Linked DNA regions of Homo sapiens: region 2 is linked to region 1. Evidence: promoter capture Hi-C in human tissues and cell types (Jung and others, 2019). All regions are on one chromosome and are shown on one strand. The core of a region is centred on a gene start or on the middle of the fragment in contact, and the rest is flanking DNA. Distances in the headings are between cores, read along the strand shown.

Evidence for each region. Contacts are between HindIII fragments. The study calls those that stand out against the background at their distance.
Region 2: a contact is called between a fragment that was not itself captured here and the fragment with the promoter of RBM14 in region 1, in 6 of the 25 tissues and cell types used here (adrenal gland, dorsolateral prefrontal cortex, liver and 3 more).

Annotation. Positions count from the first base shown.
Region 1 is chr11:66,615,260-66,619,081 of GRCh38, reverse strand. RBM14 (RNA binding motif protein 14) reads right to left here and starts at 2,452. Exons shown (of 3, transcript NM_006328.4): 1 at 2,025-2,452. The coding sequence starts at 2,361. RBM14-RBM4 (RBM14-RBM4 readthrough) reads right to left here and starts at 2,452. Exons shown (of 2, transcript NM_001198846.2): 1 at 2,025-2,452. The coding sequence starts at 2,361. RefSeq lists enhancers at 2,207-2,436, 1,569-2,502, 2,867-2,976. The HindIII fragment of the contact is 10,275 bases long and covers 516-3,822 here.
Region 2 is chr11:66,412,746-66,416,119 of GRCh38, reverse strand. It overlaps a transcript of NPAS4 not described here. Among named protein-coding and RNA genes, the nearest start is that of NPAS4, 6.6 kb to the left of the region's middle. RefSeq lists enhancers at 1,517-2,035, 2,036-2,554. The HindIII fragment of the contact is 7,963 bases long and covers 1-3,374 here.

The sequences.
Region 1 (3,822 bases), core at 1,203-3,702:
ATGTTCAAATCTTTCCCAGTCTCTTACATCGAAGTATGTCAGGAGCTCTGTTACACAACAATGTAACTGCAAATAGTTGACCACCACTCCCGGAGTAAGTCAATGCATTTTTGCTAATCAAATGTTTACAAAGGAACAAGATGCACAAAACTCCGTCTAACTCTCACAAGGAGTCAGCCAGGAGTTCTAAAAATTCATGTGCAGTTATGCACTTCACCCGCATCGTCACTTGGTGTTGGGTCCCAAGCAAATTTCAGGCAAATTTTTGACTTTCTCTACCACCTGAAAGCCAGCAAGAAGCCTGAGTTCCAGGGAGACTGTCCCTTCAGATGTTTGACTCTAGACTCTCAACCTAGTAGCCACTCTACCTAACAACCACAAAAGAAACTTGGTAAGTCAATTAAACACAAAACTCTCACAAATGAGACTCATATACCCCACCCTTTTGCTGGACAAGTACCCAATCTGAGACCCTCCCCCACCACTCTTTTACTCTAAACAAAAGCAAAAATCCATGCACCATACAGCCTGCCTCAGAGCACCCAGCAGGAAAGCCCGATTCCGGATAGTCGTGGACTTGTATAACCTGAGTTGAGGAAAATAGAATGCAGTATTAATGCAGAACAAGGACTTGTTCCTAGTAGTGGACACTATGACCCTTTATATTTCCCCCACTTAAAGGACTAGGAATGGCCCCAAACATGTGCCTTTCCAGGACAGCAAATGAAATATCTTGGTGGGATAAATAAGCACTTGCACCCACATTTATTTCCTATCCCTGAAACTTCTCACACAGGGTATGAGCAGGTATGAACCCACCAGGAGTAGGGCATCAGATACTCCCAGGCTGCATCTTCCAAAATGACAGGGCAAAGTTAACTCTGATCTGTTCCCAAGTGGAGCAGAGACTGGCCACATACACAACGGCTGTCCCACCAAATCTTGCCAATGTAAAAGATAAAGAGCTTAAGGGATAAAAACTCAAGCTATGAAAAAGTCAACTGGGTCCCTAGTCAGGCTTAAATTATGGTGACACATTTTTCTCGAAGAAAAGGCACCGGGATCTGCCCTGAGAATCAGACTACTCAAGCAATGACTACTACTGATTCAGTAAACCGTGTTTAGCCACTGTTTAATGAAGAGCTCTCACAGACCCCTCCCCAGGACCCCCTCAGCCAGAGTATGCCCCCCTGCAAAGTCACCAAGCTTATAAAAGAATGACACTGCCCTAGGGCACTGGCTTGGCATGTAAAGACTACGCAGAAGGGGACTTCATAAAACAAGCTTTCTTGCACATGCAAAAGGCTGGGGTTTCCAGTTGACAGATGTAAAATCGAGCCCAAAGAAAAACCCCAAGTTTGAGGGAGGAGAAAAGCACAGAGCTGCCACGCCTAACCTACCTAATATTGAAAGGCCAAAGTGATTCGGAAGGGGCCCCTCTCGTACCCACGTGTAACTGTGCCCATGAGTAGACCCATGCCAGACAAGACTAAAAGACCCCAGCCCGAGAAACGTCCAAGGGCCCCGTTACCTTCCGCTTGAGCACATTCATCGGGAGGGAACAGGAGGGCGGCCTTGGGGCGTCAGCCCCCACCTTTTCCCTCTTCCCTTGCTCTGACCGACGTCTGGAGAGGAAGTGGGGAAGTGGAGAAATCTTCCCCGCTTCATGATCCGGCTTGTGCCCGTCACTTCCCAATTTCCGCTGGGTGCCAGGCCCAGGAGACCAGGAGAAGGCGCGCCCCCGGAACACTCGCAAGGCTCTCAGGCGCGTCCCCGGCCCCGTAGCTTGGCTCGCAGTGGCCGCCGCACCCACCCAGAGCCGCTTCCTCCTACTTGGTGGACGGTTCCTGGACCGCAGGGGAGGAGGGTGGCTCTACCCAACGCGCCCCCAACACCTCCGACCTGCTCCCGCGCACTTCCCCACCCCTCCCAACCGCGCAGTGACCGACCCCCGGGTAAGGGGCGTGGCTAACAGGCAGAGTGCCCCGAGCGCGCCCCCGCCCCCGAGCGCGCCTCCGCGTTACCTTTCACCACGTCACACTCGATGACGCGTCCGCGGCGCTCGAAGAGGCTGCGCAGTTCCTGGCTCGTGCATGCAGCCGACACATTGCCCACGAAAATCTTCCAAGTATTAAGAGGCCTTGGGCGCGACATCTCCACCACGAGCGCGCGCCCCGGCCGCAGCTCGTGGCCGTGCAGGGCTTCGATGGCGCGCAGCGCGCCCGCGTTCTCGCGCATGTGCACGAAGGCGAACTGTTTCATGACGGCGCAGCTCATGACCGTGCCGTAGGGCGCAAAGAGGGCTGCCAGCTCCTCCGGAGTCGTATCCGCCCCGTCGACGTTGCCCACGAATATCTTCATTTTGTCGCCGCAGCCACCTTCCTGGAGAGCCCGGACCTCTCCTCCAGCGACAGGCAAGACGTCCGAACGACCGGCAGTCCTCCTCAGGAATGGCTGGCGACCGAGAACCCCGCCGCGCAGGCGCCCTGGCCTAGCCAATGGGGACTCGCATCCCGCGCGTCCAGCGACCAATCAGAAACGCTGAGGGAAGATGTGCTCAGGCACAGCCAATCCCAGAGGGCCTAGAGCCCGCTCGTTAGCTGAGGGGGTGGGAAAGGGACGACCAACCGCCACAGCCCGTGGCGGGAGAGGGGGTTGGGAAGAAGAGGGAGGGCTGAAGAGAGGAGAACGCGCGCGAGCGGCGCCGGCGGCAGAGAGGCCTAGTCTGTAAGGCGGTCTCTGGCCCGGGTGGGGCTGGGACCGGCGGGCTCCCAGGAAAACTTTGTACAATTGGAAGTCAGGGCTCCTCCCATTCTGGAAGCCCTGTCCAAACCCGCGCCTGGGGGTTGCCGCGTGAGTGTACGGGGGAAGGCCGGGCCTGGCGGGAGAAACCAGGACAGGCGCCTTGAGTCGGCAAACGGCTCCCAGGACTGTGCTGAGCACCGCGAGGGGACCTGAGGCAGGCCCCGGAGAAGCCCTCGTGCCATTAATTGATTCTTTGGAAACATTCCCTGGGGTTGCTGAGGTCCTGGCAGCCGGTGAAAAATCAAAGGCCTCTGCCCTGATGGAATTCCCAGTCAAGAAATAATGGAATGACGTTATTGTATGTTGAAGGTTTTCATAATAAACAGTTTAATAAACGAGAAAATTAATTCTGCAGGAAGCAAAAGTTGAGCCTTAAAAAAAATTTTAGTCCGGGAGCGGTGGCTCACGCCTGTAATTCCAGCACTTTGGGAGACCAAGGCAAGCAGATCACCGGAGGTCAGGAGTTCAGGACCAGCCTGGCCAAAATGGTGAAACCCCGTCTCTACTAAAAATACAAAATTAGCCGGGTGTGGTGGTGCGCGCCTGTAATCCCAGCTACTTGGGAGGCTGAGGCAGGAGAATCACTTGAACCCGGAAGGCGGAGGTTGCAGTGAGCCAAGATCACGCCACTGCACTCCAGCATGGGCGACAGTGAGATTCCGTCTCAAAAATTTTTTTAAACAGATTTGAGTATGTAAATAAGATTGTTGCATGGCAGACAACATCAAAAACATAGACATGTGACAAACTCAGGGAAATATTTGCCTACGTGTTCAGTCAACAAATAGCACCTACCATGTGGACACCACCAAGAATATAGCAGTGAACAAAAAAAAATGACAGAAATCCCAACCTTCTTGGATCTTATGGTGGGGAGAAACAGGCAAGAAATAAGTAAAACATAAGCGTGTTAGATGGTGATGAGGACTTGGAGTAATCAAGGGAACTAAGCCATCCTCTGAGGGAAGATCATGCCGGCCAGAAAGTACAAGTCAAAGAGTGCTGGGGCAGAAGCAA
Region 2 (3,374 bases), core at 137-2,636, 200 kb after region 1:
GATATCATTATTGTTATTTATATACAGTCTTGCTCTGTCATCTAGACTAGAGTGCAGTGGCCTGATCATAGCTCACTGCCACCTCAAACTCCTGGGCTGAAATGATCTTCTGTGTCAGGATCTCGAGTAGCTGGGACTACAGGCATAAACTACTACACCCAGATAATTTAAAAAAATTTTTTCTGCCCAGGCTGGTCTTGAACTCCTGACCTCAAGCAATCCTCCCACCTTGGCCTCCCAAAGTGCTGGAATTACACGTGTGAGCCACGACACCCAGCCTTGACTGATATTATGATGCTCATTTGATAGATGGTGAAACAAAGGCTCAGAGATAGATAATGACTTAATCAAAGTCACACAGCAAGTCTGGCAATGCTGAGCCTCACCCCTAGTTCCTGCTCCCAACCCAAGCTTTCTCTTTTGCACCACGTGATAGGGCTAGGGTTTACAAACTATGGACTGCAAATCTAGCCACATCTAGCCTGCTGCCTCCTTTTGTAAATAAAGTTTTATTGGAACACAGTCACATTCATTCATTTACTCATTGTCTATGGCTGTTTTCACATTACAATGGAAGAGCTGAGTAGTTGCAACAGAGACCATATGGTTCAAAAAGCCTAAAGAACTTTTTGACACTTTTTACTAATTGATCCTTTAGAGAAAAAGCGTGCCATCCTTAGACCAGAGGATGAGTTCACACCAGGAATATCTCCACTTGTTTCTCTTTCTCACCCAGAAAGCTCTCTTAACCCAGGGTATACCAAGCTATCATTTCAGCCCCCTTTACTGTTCCAAAGGCCATGGAGAAGTAGTGCTCCTGGACAACTTAAAGGAGGAGAGGTGGGAAGCCCAATGGGTCAGGCTCCTTATTGGTTTCCAGCCCCTTTTGTGGCTGTGGAGATGTACCCTCCCCATGCAGGATGATGCTCCACTTCCTGCACCAGGAGTTGGAACAGGCAATGAGGAGGCAGGGTACCCCATTCCATCCCTATTCCGACCCTAGTCTTCAGGACTGCATTTTGGGCAGGGGGGTCTCAGGGCTGGTGATTAACGAATTGTCAGGAAGACAAAATTTACATATGGGAGGAAAAGGAAGGTATTGTGGGATATTGGGCCTCCCGAAGCCTCCAGTCTGACCCAGGGGGGAAGAATCTCTCTATGCCTTCTCAGAGAGGTTGATTAACTTGCCTAGGATCACACAGCTAGAATGAGATAAATCCACAATTGAACCCAGGTTTTCCTGACTTCTACTGTTTTTTTTCTAGGTTGTTCTTTTGAATTGGTGGATTTGAAACCAGGGAAAGGTTTTCTAACAGATTCCTAAGCACCTCCCCATCCTGCGTCCATGGCTCCGCGGTCAGTGCAGTGAGAATAGGAAACCCACGCAGAGCTGGCTTGTGCAGTGACCGTGTTGTCTTCCGCTGCATCTTAGCAAGCTGTTTTCCTTTTCCTGAGGCCTTTTCATTATGCTATCACTCCCTCAATTCTACTTGCACATGAAAGCATTCAGAACATTTTATCTATTTATGGTTATGAAATCAACAAAGCTCATGTAAAGAGGGTGCAGGCTGGCACCCACGCATTGAGACGGCCAGAGCTGGGTGAATGAGCTGAAAGCCAGGAAGGTGAGGGACATAGAACCATGGAGGGGGTGGGAGAGGGAGAGTAGAGCCCAGGTGGGAAAAGATGAAACTTTTGTGGGCAATGTCCTGAAGGCAGGGCTGAGAGAAGAGGATGCAAGGAATGCAGTGAGGAGCAAGTCAGAGCAGCCACATTCCAAGAGGGGAAAGAAACCTAATCAACTAAAGCCACTTTTCAAATGCAGAGCAGCGACCAATACTCTTGACCTGCCCTGGGGAGGCTGGAGGAGGCGGATTTTCCTCACATTCATTTTCAGAGTCCTCTCCACCACCACTCCCAGCTGGCAAATTCTGGCCCTTCTGGTCCTCCAGTGAGGTCCGGGGACCCCCTCAGTGCCCCCCAGCCCCTGTGCTTCCTCGTCACCGCACTCTGCACCCTGCATTGTCCCTGTGTGTTTACTTGGCTGTCTCCCCTACCAGCATCTACAACTGGTCTTCATGTTCCCAGCATCCAGCACAAGGCCTGGCACAGGGCAGGGGCTCAGGCATGTAAGTCATTCATGCAACAAACAGCTGAGGGCAGAGTTTGTGCCAGCCTCTGCAGTGATGTGATGGTGCCCACAGACAGCTGGTCTTGGCCTCATGGAACCTGCAGGCTGGTGAGAGAGCAAGGGGTCCATCCAGCCACTTCAGTGGGATACTGCTGTCAAGGAGGCATGCTGGGAGTTTGGGGAGAGCAAAAGGAGGGGTGACCCTGCCTGAGGAGTTGGCACCGGCCTCCCCAAGCAGGTGCATTTGAGTTGAGCTGCTGGTGGCAAGTCAGTGTTGACTGGGCCAGGCTGTGCTGGGTGGGTGGCTGGGTGGACAGAGGAGTGTGGCCTCATAAATGAGATTCAACACAGTGCCAGGTAGCCACAAAAGAAGCCACTGTAGCTGAGGTTGTGTTAACAGGGACATGCAGCAAAAGTGGAGAGAGGGCAGCCTCTGTCAGGGCCAGGAGGTTTGGCTCTAGGACTTATGCTATGGGTCCAAGCCTAGCCTTGAGCAGAGCAGCCAGTGAGGAGGAGCCAACTGCACCCAGGGCTGTGAGGCAGGGCCCAGGCCATCCCCCAGGCCTGCCTCTGGTAAGCCCTCCAGCCTGTCTGGCCTCATGCACCCCCTTGCCTCTCTTCCAGCTGCATAAGCCTTCTTCCAGTCCCTGGCCTGCCACCCTCCCGGCCGCCACAGTGCTTTTGCACATGCTGTTCTCTCTCCTGGGGTGCTGCTGCCTCTCTCCTCTGCCGAGTTCTTCCTAATTTCCCGTTAGTTCAGCCTAAATATCGTCTCCTCTGGAAAGCCTTCCCTGACATTACCGCTGAGGCCAAATCCTCAGTTACAGGTTTGCAGGCACCCCAGGCCTCTGTTGGCACTTGGTGAAATAGCGATTTAATCCTTTATTTTGGTGAGGAATTTATTGTCTCTTGTCCACTAGACTGTGGTCACCATGGCAGGGACTGTGACTGCTTTGCCCACTGTCAACTCCAGCGTAAAGTGCTTCATAAACATTTGTAAGAAATTTTTAAAAGATGGAAGGAATGGAGAGATGTTCCTCAGAGAAGAGGAGGCTTGAGGAGGTGGTGTGGCATTTGCAGATGTTTGAAGGACCATCAAGAGGCAGTGGGAGAGACACGGTCCACGTGGAAAGGCCAGTGGGAGGGGATGTACCTGAGGCAGGAGAGGGTGGCGGGGGAGGAGAATCTGGGCTGAGTCCTGCCTCCTCCACAGACTGCCTTTGTGACATCGGTCAGTTAAGTG